Regions from separate parts of the Homo sapiens genome. Here all the other regions are linked to region 1. The links are contacts of gene promoters, found by promoter capture Hi-C in blood cells and fetal thymus (Javierre and others, 2016). All regions are on one chromosome and are shown on one strand. The core of a region is centred on a gene start or on the middle of the fragment in contact, and the rest is flanking DNA. Distances in the headings are between cores, read along the strand shown. Region 1 holds the start of SFXN4 (sideroflexin 4). Region 2 overlaps MCMBP (minichromosome maintenance complex binding protein). Region 3 overlaps MCMBP (minichromosome maintenance complex binding protein).

Region 1 (4,631 bases), core at 121-2,620:
CAACCTCTCCAGGTTCTCCAGGTGAGGAAGCTGAGGCTTAGAGGGACTCCTGAATGTACTCAAGGCAACACAGCCAGGAAATGATTCAGAAGTCTGTGCCCTTAACCTCTCAGTATCAAATTGCCCTTGAGGGTTAAAATCCCAGACTTTGGGGGTTCAAATGGTCTTACGTTCATATCTCACATACGACCTCGAAGCAATGGCCTAGAATATCTCAAGAGTCTGTGGCCTCACTCTCTGCTTGCTATAAGGCTTCACTCCAGTGACAAAGGATGGACGCCCCATTAAGGGCTCAATGGTGCAGCTGGGGTCACACTGGGGAAAAAGAGGTTTGCTCCAGCAAACTCTAAACTTTGTAGTGGTTCTGGCTTTAAGCCTTGGCTCTGCTGGAGCAACCTGAGCTCACCGCCCCTTCTCAATTTCCCCACCTAAAAAAAAAACAGGGCTGGACCCCACTTTAGGAGAGGCCTCAAAGAGAACCCCCTAAAGCCCTGCTCTCCAATTCGCCACATGCGGCTGAACCCAGATGTGCTGTGAAGGTAACAGACGCCGGATTTGGAACACTCTGTACCAAAAAAGCGAGTAAAATATCTCAGCAATGTTTTTTACTGATTACATGTTGAAATGTTAATATTTTGCACCTGCTAGGCTAAATGTACTGTATTGTTAAAAATTTCAGCTGTTTTTATCTTGTTTAATGTGGCTACTAGAAAATGTTTAATTACCTGTAAGGCTCACATCATATTTCTATTGGACGGTGCTGCCCTAGACGCTGCAGGGAGATAAGTCCTGCTTATGTCCTGCCCAAGGGTGGCTTCCCAAAGCCTCGGGGGTCTCACCGAAAGTGGCTGAGCTTACCAAGGTGCGAGAGCCTGTTTCTCCCCAATCTGCTGCTCAGCCACAGCTCAGGCAGTAGGGAGCAGCCACCTGCGCGGACTGGGCCCCTCCGAGAGGGCAATCTGGAGGGTGACGTTGTGGTCGTGGGCATCTGGCAGCTTCGATTTCCCCTGCGTCCCCTGCCGCGCCCTAAGGGGTGAAGGCCGGTGGTGCGCGTTCCCGGCACAACTCCGAGAGGAGGAAACGGAGACAGGGGGCGCCCACGTGGCCTGGCCAAGGTCACCCGGGTCAGCCCGACTCCACGCGGCCCGGCCCGCCCCCTCCCTGCCCCTAGTCGCGCCGGGCCCGGGCCGTACTTGGCGCTCGGTGATCCAGAAGCGCACGTTGGGCTCAATGAAGGCGGGGACGGCGTCTCTGCGTCCTAGGAGCCGCCCAGGTTGCGTTTCCTCCTCCTGTTCCAGGGACATTTTGCGCTGGTTAGAGTGGCCGCCGCCGCCAGGCCGCGCGTGGAGGAGGAGCCGGGCGGCGAGCCCCGCCCCGGGCCGCGCGCACCCGCAGTTCCCGCCCCAGGCCCGCGCGCCCGACGTCCCGTGTCACAGCGCCTCGGGGCCCTTGCGCGCCCACTGTTCCGGCGAGCGCAGCTCTCCCACGGGCCACGTCCTCCCAACCCTGCTTGCCCTGCTCCGCACCTTTGGGGAGCCGGGCCGTCTCCAGGCCCCAAGGGGTCACTATCGGAACCCGTCATCACAGTACCTAATGCGAAGACCCGGAAAGGTTGTGAGTGAGGCCGTCCGCAACCTCACCCTGCGCTTCTGCCGCGCCCTACCCCTGGTCATTACCCTCGAAAATCCCTCCGATGGCCCACGAATTCCAGTGTGCATGGTGTTGCGCAGTCAGGCCGGCTGCATCATGGTCTCAGCCCAGGGAAAATGTCAAATGCGGTGCCCCTTATTCATGTTACTGAGAATTTCAAGAGAGTAACACCAGAGCATCAAACCAAGTATAGGGCCCTGGGCACAGTGCACTATCCCTCAGCCCAACAGGTTGTTTTTTTTTTTCTTCCAGTGTTGGGGCAAATCCAGTTCCTTTTGTTGACTACCAAATAGGTACCATTTGTAAAGAAAAACCTGCCTTCCCTTCCTCCTCCCACCTGCCCTTCCCCAGCACAGGGCCAGGCGGGGGCTGTGTGCACTTAAATTCACGGAAGCCACAAGTGTGCCTAGGTCGTTCAGGGGGCCTCCGGAGTCCAGGACTGGGGGACCCAGCACATCATCTAGTTGTGTGACCCTCGCCAAGTCAGTATCTCGAAGTCTATTTTCCCATCCGCAAAATGAGGATAACAATTGTACCTATCTCAGGGTTTTGTTTCTGATCAAAGGAGATAAAACATCCCTAACACAGCACTGAGCCCTCAGAAGTGCTCAGTATTGGCCATTAACCTCCAGCGGGCCAATTCCTTCCCTTGCCCTGCGCCTCCAGGAACAGGAAATTGGCTCATGGCGTCCTTCAGGCCTGTATGACTCTGCTTCTGTATTTGCTCAGTTTGCCTAGCTCACTTTTCTTAACCTCCAGGGGTTTATCTCCTCTTCCAGGAAGCCTTCCCTGACCCTCCGAGTTGAGTAAGGTGCCCCCTCCACTTCTACCCTTATGCCGCAGAAATCCATCTAAGCACCAGTGCAGTATGTAGCGTGCTGTTCTATTCTGTTGTCTCTACCCTCCAGGATGTCACAAAGCCAGCCCGCTGGCCTGCTTCCCCACTTTGGACTGCTATGTCGTCTTAACAAAGGAGCCAGAGTGATTCTCTTAGAACAAGTTGATGTCACTCTTCTTTTCAAATCCTTCCTGACATTCCCCACCCCAGAACAGAACCTAAAGTCCTTGGCCTGGCCAAAAGGCACTCTGGGACCCCCACCACAGCCATAGTCACCGGCCTCCTAGTAAATCTGCATCCGCTCTGAGCCCACTCTTGCCTCACGGCCTTTGTGTTTTCCCTGCCCTCTGCCTAGAAGTCTCTTATCCCCGTAATACTCTCACTTTCTACGCGTTTTCTCTCCCTCGATGCTCATCAAAACCCTGAGATAAGTACAATTATTGTCCTCATTTTACAATGAGAAAATTGATCCAGAGAGGCTCTCCCTTAAGGCCTTCCTTGACAACCCCATCTAGAACACCTACAACTCCGCTTCAGCAGTTTCACTCCACATTATTTTCCTTCCAAACACTCTACTTTTACTACATGTATGAGGTGTTTCCCCTCTAGAATGTAAGAGCTTAAAAGCAGGGGTTTGTCCGTTGTTCGCTCTTGTGCCTGGAAAACAGCACCTGGTGCGGGGTAGGCACTCAAGGATTTACTGAAACAACGAGAAAATGTTTCCCTATCTGTCTTGCCCCTAAACCGAGTTCCTTGAGTGCGGAACCAGCATCTTATTCTCTTTGTGGCCCCTGAGGTAAATGCTCAATAAATGTTTGTTGATAATCTGAGAAGGAAAGGAGAGCCCAAAATAAGCTGATCCAACAGTTACTGGTGGTAAAATGCAAATGTTTTAAAATATGTTTATTTTGTATGTTTTACAATGAATACTTCAGCAAAGAAAATAATTATAATTTCAAAATGCAATCCCTGGATTTGATAAATATCCTTTATAATCGATTACACTAATCAATATCTAGAAATATACATAGACAAAGTTAGCTAATGAATAAAATAAGTAAAATGACTACATAAACTCAATTTCAGGGATGAGGGATCATGCATGATCAGTTAAGTCACTCTGCCACTTTTTAAAATAATACGATTCACATTTGCTTCAATCACATAAACATTCATTGCAGGAGTTACACGGCTAATCATTGAAAATTATGATCTTTGTTAGCTTAAAAGAAAATTCAGTTTAATACAAAGACATTCAAGATGAAAATTTCAGGACCGTTGATCAGAAGCTTTCAATGTGTGTTGCTCTACTTTATTATAGGCAAGATTCAAGTAAGGCTAAGAAAGAAGAGTGTTTCCATTGAGACATGATCTAAGAATAGCCTTCTATAGAGGCAAATTATGTTCTGTAGAAACTAGCTAGCCAGCCACCAAGATGTTACCAATAAAGGATTCCTTGTACTAGCAACTAACCATGTTTAAAAGGTCTTAGCCAGAATTACAAAAACAAAACATTTAGAGTAATACTTATGAATACAAGCATAATTGGTTCCTTGCCTTCTACAAATAACCATCTTGAAAATGATAAAAGCAGGTTTCAACTGTGGTTCTTCTCTCAGTTGAGAAGGTGCAGATACACATGGGTGATCTACTGATTTACCTTCTGAAAGTACTCTTTGGAAGCAGCTGGACTTGGCTTGATCTGAAAATACAAAAGCTTAATTAGGTAACTGTGACTTTACCATAATAATAGTCCCAAAAGTGAGTGGCAATCTCCCAATTTTTAACCTAAAGTTCTTTAAACTTTTAAAGATTTCCTTTAAAACATAAAGATGAAAGTTTCATTAAGGCCTGCCTGTCTCTAGGCCGGGCACGGTGGCTCACGCCGGTAATCCCAGCACTTTGGGAGGCCAAGGCGGGTGGATCACGAGGTCAGGAGATCCAGACCATCCTGGCTAACACGGTGAAACCCCGTCTCTACTAAAATTCAAAAAATTAGCCGTGGTGGTGGGCGCCCTGTAGTCCCAGCTACTCAGGAGGCTGAGGCAGGACAATGGCGTGAACCCAGGAGGCGGAGCTTGCAGTGAGCTGAGAGAGCGCCACTGCACTCCAGCCTGGGCGAGAGCAAGACTCCGTCTCAAAA
Region 2 (4,631 bases), core at 637-3,136, 700 kb after region 1:
TGCACTTGAAAAGAATGTGTATTCTGCTGTCATTAGGTAAACAAATGTCAATTAGATCTACTTGGTTGACAGTGTTGTGTAGTTTTGTGTTGTTCAGTATTCTTTTTGATTTTCTACCCACTATTCTGTCAAGTACTGAGAGAGGAGTAGTAAAATATCTAACTACAATTGCAGATTTGCCTATTTCTTCTTTTATTTCTGCTGGTTTTTGCATCATACATTTTGAAGCTCTGTTGCTTGGTGCATATATAGTTAGGTCTTCTTGGTGAACTGACTGTTTTAACATTATATAATGTGCCTCTTGTTCTCTTCTCACACAACCTTTCTTAAAAACATTTTAGGCCAGGCGTAGTGGCTTATGCCCGTAATCCCAGCACTTAGGGAGGCCAAGGCAGGCAGATTACCTGAGATCAGTAGTTTGAGACCAGCCTGGCCAACATGGTGAAACCTCATCTCTACTAAAAATACAAAAGTTAGCTGGGCTTGCTGGTGGTACCTGTAATCCCAGCTACTTGGGAGGCTGAGGCAGGAGAATTGCTTGAACCTGGGAAGTAAAATGGTGCAGCCACTGTGGAAAAGTTTGGCAATTCCTCAAAAAGTTAAATATAAAATTATCATATGACCTTGCAATTCCATCCCTAGGTATATCTGGGAAAGAACCAAAAAGCTTACATTCACACAAAAACTTGTACATGAATGTTTATAGTAGCAGTATTTATAACAGCCAGGAAATAACCTAAGTGTCCATCAGCAAATATATGGATAAACAAAATGCAGTATAGACATACAATGGAATGTTATTTTCAGCCATAAAAAGGAATGCAGACTGGGTACAGTGGCTCACATCTGTAATCCCAGCACTTTGGGAGGCCGAGGCGGGAGGGTCACTTGAGGCCAGGAGTTTGAGTGTAGCCTGGGCAACATAGTGAGACCCCAAATCTACAAAAAATGATTTAAAAATTAGCTGGGTGTGGTAATACAGGTAATACATGCCTGTAGTCCCAGCTACTCAGGAAGCTGAGGCTGCAGGATCACTTGAGACTGGAAGTTCAAGGCTGCGGTGAACCATGATCTTGCCACACAGCATTCCAGCCTGGACGACAGAGCCAGGCTCTATCTCTTAAAAAAAAAAAAAAAAGGAATGCAGTACTGATGCATACTATGACATGGATGAACCATGAAAATATCATGGTAAATGAAAAGAAGCCAGACCTCAAAGGCCACATGTTGTATAATTCCACCTACACGAAACGTCCAGAATAGGTAAATCCATGGGCAGAAGTATAGTTGTTGCCAGAGATGGAAGACAGAAGAAATGGGAGAGACTACTAAAGGTATGGGGTTTCTTTTTGGAGTGATGAAAATGATAGGGGTGGCCGGGCGTGGTGGCTCATGCCTGTAATCCCAACACTTTGGGAGGCCGAGGCGTGTGGATCACCTGAGATCAGGAGTTCAAGAGCAGCCTGACCAACATGGTAAAACTCCGTCTCTACTAAAAATACAAAAATTAGCCAGGAATGGTGGTGCATGCTTGTGATCCCAGCTACTTGGGAGGCTGAGGCAAGAGAATCGCTTGAACCCGGTAAGCAGAGGTTGCAGTGAGCCAAGTTTGCACCACTGCACTCCAGCCTGGGCAACAGAGTGAGACTCCGTCTCAAAAAAAAGAGAAAAAGATAGTGGTGGTGATGGTTGCACAACATCATTATGAATACAGTAAAAAAAATTCAATTGTACATTTTAAAATGTTAAATTTTGTTATGTGAATTTTATTTCAAAGAAAAAAAATTTTTTTGGACCAGCCTGAGCAACATAGTGAAACACCATCTCTACGAAAATACAAAAAGTTAGCTGGGTGTGGTGGCAGGCGCCTGTAGTCCCAACTACTCGGGAGGCTGAGGCAGTAGAACTGCTTGAACCTGGGAGGTAGAGGTTGCAGTGAGCAGAGATCGTGCCACTGCACTCTAGCCTGGGTGACAGAGCGAGACTCTGTCTCAAAGAAAAAAACCTCTAAAAGCAAAAACAGTTAAAAGCGGTTACTTCAGGCAGGGCACGGTGGCTCATGCCTCTAATCCCAGCACTTTGGGAGGCCGAGGGTGGTGGATCACGAGGGCAGAGGAGGTCGAGACCATCCTGGCCAACACGGTGAAGCCCCGACTCTACTAAAAATGCAAAAATTAGCCAGGTGTGGTGGTGGTCGCCTGTAGTCCCAGCTACTCAAGAGGCTGAGGCATGAGAATCGCTTGAACCTGGGAGGGAGAGGTTGCAGTGAGCCGAAATCGCACCACTGCCCTCCAGCCTGGGCGACAGAGCGAGACTCCATCTCAAAAAAAAAAAAAAAAAAAAAAAAAAAAAGTGGTTACTTCAATGGAGGGAGCACGTACTTTCACTCAGTTCATACCATCATGTTGATTTTTTTTAAAACCATGTGTAAGTTATTATAACTTAAAAACTCCTACGTATGCCATCTGCCATGGCTGCCGGAGCTATTCTTCTTCTTTGAGAACGCCCCCAATGTTGAGGTGTGGATAACAGTCACGATTGTCCTACCTAACTCTGTGCCATGGCCACAGATGACTGATCCCTGAGTGAATGGATTCCTGACTCCATGTTGTGCCAATCAGATTTTCTATGCCTGAAAATAAAGATGCTAGCTAGCGTGGGTTGGAACCGAGAACAAGTAAATTTGGGAGACATGGAGTAGAGAAAGAGAAAGTGTGCAGAGATTAATGTATCCCAAGAGAAGAAATACTGAGTTGCTTGGATTCCTGCTAGCTTTCCAGTTCCTGATTCCACTCAGTCTCTTCGAATACCCAACCACTTCCCCTGTTCTTGGGTTTTATAGCCTTAATATAAATTAACTTTTTTCAGTGGCCTACCAAGGACAGAGTGGTAGAAGAGGTCCAAGCTGGGTACAGACAATAAGGGCACAGATTGTCTGTTTAGATTCATGGTGATAATAAAAAGCAGACCAACTAACTTTTAGTTCATTTTATTATTGCTTTAAATTCTCTAAAATGCTAGTGATAAAATAGTCTGCTCTGCCCCTCTTCACCCAACCCTGCTCTTTTTTGCATGAGCTAGTCTAGTTCTGTTAGATACAACCAAAGAAGCTTAAATATAACGAGAATAATGATCTTGGTCTAACCAATAGTTGAAGGGAAAACAGCTAAAGAGGCTGGGCGCAGCAGCTCACACCTGAGATCTCAGCACTCTGGGAGGCCAAGTGGGGGCAGATCACTTGAGGCCAGGAGTTCAAGACCAGCCTGGCCAACATGGCAAAACCCTGTCTCTATTAAAAATAGAAAAATTAGCCAGGCATGGTGGTGCACACTTTTAATCCCAGCTACTCGAGAGGCTGAGGCATGAGAATGGCTTGAACCCAGAAGGCGGAGGTTGCAGTGAGCCGAGATCACGCCACTGCACTCCACCCTGGGCAACAGAGCAAGACACTGACTCCAGAAAAAAAGAAAAGAAAAATTTTGAGATTTGTGATCTCACTAGCCATTTCAATTAACAACATTTCTGATTAATCAGTCTTTTCACTGCTTTTGTTCAACAAGTGTCCACTGAGCACTTTCAATGTACAAGGCAAATTCTAAGAAATTAGGATACAGTGGTGAATAATGCAGATACAGGGGCCCTGAATTCGCGGGGTCAAAATCCAGCAAAGGAACTTCCGAAACAAGGAATTTCAACAATGCACTTTACACACTATTTTTCAAAGACATATATAATAGGATCCTGCAGTAACATGGAGCAGGGGTACCCTACTTTGGTACCTAACTTAAGTTCCCAAAGGAAAAGTAAGACTTAGCCAGAAAAGTGGACATGGGATGGGAGGGGGAATCAGGCACAAGAAATCAGCAGATGCAAAAAGGCCTAGACACAGGTTCAAAATTAAAGAACTGAAAAAAGGTTCAGTGCGGCTGGGATGGAGTATGAGGAGGGGGTACGCAGTGATAAAGTCTCAGAGCAAGGCAAGGGTGGAGCCAACAAGGGCCTCATAAACCACTTTAAAAGTCCTGGATCAGATAGTAAGGGTAACAAGAAGTCACTGAAGGACTTGGTTCCAGTATGGCAGGTGGAAGAGAAGCAAGACTGGAGGCAAGAAACCAGTTAGAGGGCTGTTCCAGCGTCCAGGAAAGAGACTACGATGGCTTTAATTTTGACAGTAGCATTGGAGATGAGGGTCTGGGTCGGGCGCGGTGGCTCACGCCTATAATCCCAGCACTTTGAGAGGCCGAGGCAGGCAGATCACCTGTTCGAGACCAGCCTTGCTAACATGGTGAAATCCTGTCTCTACTAAAAATACAAAAATTAGCGGCTCGGTGTGGTGGCTCACGCCTACAATCCCAGCACTTTGGGAGGCCAAGGTGGGCGGATCACTAGGTCAGGAGTTCAAGACCAGCCTGGCCAACATGGTGAAACCCTGTCTTTACTAAAAATACAAAAATTAGCTGGGCATGGTGGCATGCACCTGTAATCCCAGCTACTCAGGGGGCTGAGGCAGGAGAATCACTTGAACCCAAGAGGCAGAGGCTGCAGTGAGCCAAGATTGTAACACTGCGCCCTAGCCTGAGTGACAGAGCAAGACTCAGTCTCAAAAAAAAAAAAATTAGCTGGGCATGGTG
Region 3 (4,631 bases), core at 865-3,364, 670 kb after region 1:
AAAACAGCCCAAGGTACTGCTAATTTGGGACGTTTTATTTATTGGAAAGGTTCTTTCAAGGGAACTTTTCTGCAAGACCAAGCAATGTATGTATTTTTCTTTGGTAAATTACAATTTACATTGGCACAAAAAACACATGGTGACTAATGTACTTTGCTCTAGGACAATTAAAGAAAATGTATTTTATCCTCACAAATCCAGTGAAGCCTTCATTTTATTTCTAAAAGTTTAAGGAAGGTCTAGTCTACCAGTTATAAAAATGAAAACCAGTTCAACTCTAATATAAACATTATTTACATTTGTTTATAAAAATAGATTTGAGTTTAGGAAAAGTTGAACAACTAGTTATTTTTACTTCAGTTATTAGGTACAATGAATTCCTTGATTTTTCAAGGCTGACCCTGTTTCCTTGGTTAACAATTTCAATTTAGGCCTTATAGGAAAAAACGTAAGGGATCCTTTATCTGCCTCCAACTAGGTAAGTTATTTGATACCACTGACAGCTTAAAAAGTAATGTCCTAACCTTTCTGAAGATTCTGGTTGCCATAACCATGCTACTACAGTCTGTTGTTAGTTTGCTCTATTAAAACTAATTGGTCTGGAGAAAACCTACCTGCAGTTGTACGAGGCTGTTACTGGAGTAGCAGATGTTAGCTGATCTAACATACTTGGAACCAACTGATGATCCCATAAAAAATGCCAAAAATCCAATAGAATCAAAGCAACTCAATGACATTTAAGAAAATAAAAACTTTCTAAAGGGGGTATTGCTTTTTAAGTTTCCTATTTTGTTTTCATATTTGGGCACAGCTTTGTAGCACAGCATTCCCTTATGCATGGTTCTCAAATGCACTGGGATAGGAGAAAATAAAGACAATGTAGTGTCTTGGTTTCTTTTGCCCCCAAAAGCCACATTCATTCCGTTTAAAGGACTCCTCTTATTCAGAGATAGATTGTCCTTTCCTTTTATGAAAAAAATGGTGATAATACAGTGATTTATTCGGATTACTTGGCAAGGTAAATTGGCAACCTTATAGTACCCCAGATTTTTGGAAATATTACTACCGGTCCATAAAATACAAAAGTCTGGGAACCACTGCCATGTACAAGTTTAGTTTTGCAGGCTGTTAACAAATGTTAAGTGGGAAAAAGTTTCTGTGGCCAAACATCTGGGAAATGACAGTACAGAATTTCATGTAGTCATGTGAATCAATGGCAAGTACGCCTCCGTTCCCCAAAGATGGACTACTGAATGCACCCCAACCCACTGTGAACTGGAAAAACAGAGAACTAGAAAACATAAGAAATCCGAAGCACGATTCCTCTGACTTTGAAACTGCAACAACCTTCTTCATTTCAGCATTTCAACAGTCTGGCCTATGACTCAGCTGAAGCTAAGGAAATGGTACAATCAGCAACATTATCAATATTAAACTTTTAATATCAAATACTTTTTTTACATCATTACTAATTTATATAATTATTATAAAACAAACTTCAAAAGCTCCATGAAATCAGTAAGGTAAAAGTCCTTACTGAATATCATATAAACATCAGGTGTTACCAGGCTTGATTTCAGGAAATGTCACTGGTTTGTGATAGAAATTACCTATAAAACAATGTGGTATAAATGAATATCTGAATTTTACAATTATGTGGCTACAGTTTGCCCATTACTCTTCATAGGTATTACATCTTTAAAGTTCATTTCCATTCACACATTTTTGCTGCTGAAGCCTCGTTCTTCTTAAAGACTCTAGCTGCTTTGCTCTCAGCCATCGTTCTCTTGACAGCGTTGTCTGACCAGCACTGAGAGACAGACACCTGGTTTGAAACACAGAAACAAATTTAAGTCTAGAGCTGGGATAGTAAGTTTTAAATTTTTTTTAAGACCTAGGAATACTTTGTGAAAACACAGAGCACGTTAGGAGACAAGACCGTATGGTAGTTACACACAAGTCAACAGCCAAGTTAGGCTTCTAAAAAGAAATCGTTGAAGAGTCAGAATTGGAAAGTGGCTCACTCTTTGAAGCTTAGAGAACAAGCAGCATGCCTGTTCCACTGAAGAGATCACCAGCCAAACTCGATTCCCCCTCAATGAGCCCTTTCATACAGCGTTTTTAAAAGGAAAAGTTCATTTCCGTTTTTAGAATTCTGCCTCAGTTACTGCTGAATAACTCAGAAGACATATACACAAGCTTACCGAAACAGCAATAATGGACGTGCGCCACTTACCGAGCCACCACGAGCAGCTGGTGAAGATCATCAGCAGTGATGCTCTGAGGGTCGTTCTTCCGCATTTCCACAAAGTCATCTTCAACTGCCTTTATCAAAAGAGTAAATGTAAATGATGTGCATTTTTGTAAGGAAAAGAAAATTAACATGGTTCCTTGACTGATGTAGTAAGGTGCATGTCAGCCTCTTAGACAAAGGAGGCAATATGGGTGAAAGTACCAAAGCATATACATACATAATGCTGCTGATGAAAATAAAATAATGAAACTCAGATTCATTTAAGGTCAAGCAAACATATAAATCAGCAACTGGCATAGGAAACAATGCTTTTCCACAAAGGAAGAGTGATGTTAGTGAAAATGGCAGAGAAGGGACCGCAGAAAACTGTCTCTACTGTTAACACTGATCAAAATCAGCTTTTTAAAAACTAGAAATAAAACCATACTTGCAGCAATCCAGAGAGCATTTATGCAAGAAAACCAGGTGATTATTGGTAAGAATGTTGAGCCTGGCAGCATTTTAACATGTCCTACTCCTAAATTCCAACCCCTTCCCCTCCAGGCGATAATTAGTAGCTTCAAAAATCAACAGCCTGGCAGCCACCGGAGAGAGAACAGGGCTAGGGCTCCTTCCAAGTGCCATTCCCGGAGAACTGTCATCTGACCACCTGTCTGGTGGCTCCCTGGAAGGACCCATTTGCAAGGTTGTCTTTATTTAACCTGACTGGAAGCCTGTCTACTATGAACCACCTCTTTCCCCAGGGCATTTATCAAAAACAATCGGAAGAAATTACCAATCACCTTAGCTACCTGAGACACTGGGTAACAGCTGCGGCAGACAGACTAACCCAAACCCTTCAATGGAAAAGCTAGCTGGGAAATGACATGTCTGTAGAGGGCTCTGAAAACCTTAAGTATGTAACTCCTAGGAACTCAGAAGGCTGCAGACATGCTCAGAGACCATAGCTCCCACCTCTGCATGACCTGGAGGCTCTGTGCGAGCAGGAAATGAAGGCTAAGGCTTGTAAATTGCATGGCTAAGTGTTGAACTGAGGGCTTGCCCCAACTTTTATTTTTATTTATGATTATTATTCACCCGTAGACTGGGAGACTACTACCCAGCATTTAAGGAAATTTCTTTCCAATCATTAACCACAAAACTAACAGAGCAGAGACTTCAGTGCCCACATGTGACAAAGATACAGACTTTATAGAATTAGTCAAAAAAGTTACTAAACAACCTACCAACAGTAACAAACAGCAACAACAATAAACCCTAGGGAGGTTTAATTTCCAGAGTAACTTCCAAAGCAGAGTTGCCATATTATATAATTTAAAATGTCTGGTTGTGGCTAGATGTGGTGGCTTACACCTGTAATCCCAACACATTGGGAGGCCAAGGTGGGAGGACTACTTGAAGCCAGGAGTTGACCAGCCTAGGCAATAAAGCAAGACCTCATCACTACAAAAAAAAAAAGAAAGAAAAAAAAAGAAAAGAAAAAACAAAAAAACAAAACTTTAGTTGGGCATGGTGGTGCACACCTATGGTCCCAGCTACTGAGGCAAGAGGATCACTTGAGCCCAGCAGTTTAAGGCTGCAGTGAGCTGTGGCTGTGCTACTTACTATTCCAGCCTGGGTGATACAGTGAGACCCCACTGACCAAATAAAATGTCTGGTTTTCAACAAAAAAGTACAAAGAAACCAGAAGGTATGGCTCACACTTTGGGGATAAGGGAGTCAGTAGAAAACTGTCCCAGAGGAAACTCAAACATTAGACAAAAAGACTCTAAATTGGCTATTTTAAACATTCAAAGAAATAAAGGAAACCACATAAAAAGAACTTCAGGAAAATATGAGAATCACCAAATAGAGAGTATCAATAAAAAGAGAGAAATAATTTTTTAGAAGAAGGAAATAAAAATTCTGGAGTTGAAAAATATAGTAAAAATTCTCTAGAGGTGCTCAGATTTGATCAGGCAGAAGAAAATCACTAAATTTGAAGATAAGTTCACTGAGATTAGTCTAAGAAACAGAACAAAAAAAGAAGAATGAGGGAAAATGAACAGAGCCTTGAAGACCTGTGGGATACCATTAAATGCAACATCAGATACACAGTGGTAGTGTCAGAAGGAGAGCAGAGAGAAATGAGGCAGAAAGAAACATGGCCAAAACCTTCCCAAACTTGTTGAAAACTTCCCCAAAATATGAATTATTCTGCACCTCCAAGAAGCTCAACAAACTCCATGTAGGATAAACTCAGAGATCCACACATAGACACATCATAATCGAAACTGTCAAAAGCCACAAAATCTTGAAAGCAGTGACAGAAAAATGACTCAGTGTGTACAAAGGATCCTTATCAGAAACTAGTTGGCTTCTCAGTAGAAACCAGAGG

The links. The method cuts DNA at HindIII sites, captures the fragments that hold promoters and counts their contacts. A CHiCAGO score of 5 or more calls a contact.
Region 2: a fragment that was not itself captured here is called in contact with the fragment with the promoter of SFXN4 in region 1 in 6 of 17 cell types (total CD4 T cells, fetal thymus, total B cells and 3 more); the score reaches 10.1 in total CD4 T cells.
Region 3: a contact is called between a fragment that was not itself captured here and the fragment with the promoter of SFXN4 in region 1, in 1 of 17 cell types (total CD8 T cells). The highest score is 6.5, in total CD8 T cells.

Annotation. Positions count from the first base shown.
Region 1 is chr10:119,164,344-119,168,974 of GRCh38, forward strand. SFXN4 (sideroflexin 4) reads right to left here and starts at 1,371. Exons shown (of 14, transcript NM_213649.2): 1 at 1,194-1,371. The coding sequence starts at 1,304. PRDX3 (peroxiredoxin 3) reads right to left here. Exons shown (of 7, transcript NM_006793.5): 7 at 3,377-4,190. The coding sequence ends at 4,137. RefSeq lists silencers at 822-1,008, 1,050-1,519. The HindIII fragment of the contact is 6,667 bases long and covers 1-3,775 here.
Region 2 is chr10:119,864,970-119,869,600 of GRCh38, forward strand. All of the region lies in intron 1 of MCMBP (minichromosome maintenance complex binding protein), which reads right to left. Among named protein-coding and RNA genes, the nearest start is that of MCMBP, 5.6 kb to the right of the region's middle. The HindIII fragment of the contact is 2,443 bases long and covers 666-3,108 here.
Region 3 is chr10:119,829,776-119,834,406 of GRCh38, forward strand. MCMBP (minichromosome maintenance complex binding protein) reads right to left here. Exons shown (of 16, transcript NM_001256378.2): 15 at 2,237-2,325; 16 at 1-1,825. The coding sequence ends at 1,699. Among named protein-coding and RNA genes, the nearest start is that of MCMBP, 41 kb to the right of the region's middle. The HindIII fragment of the contact is 166 bases long and covers 2,032-2,197 here.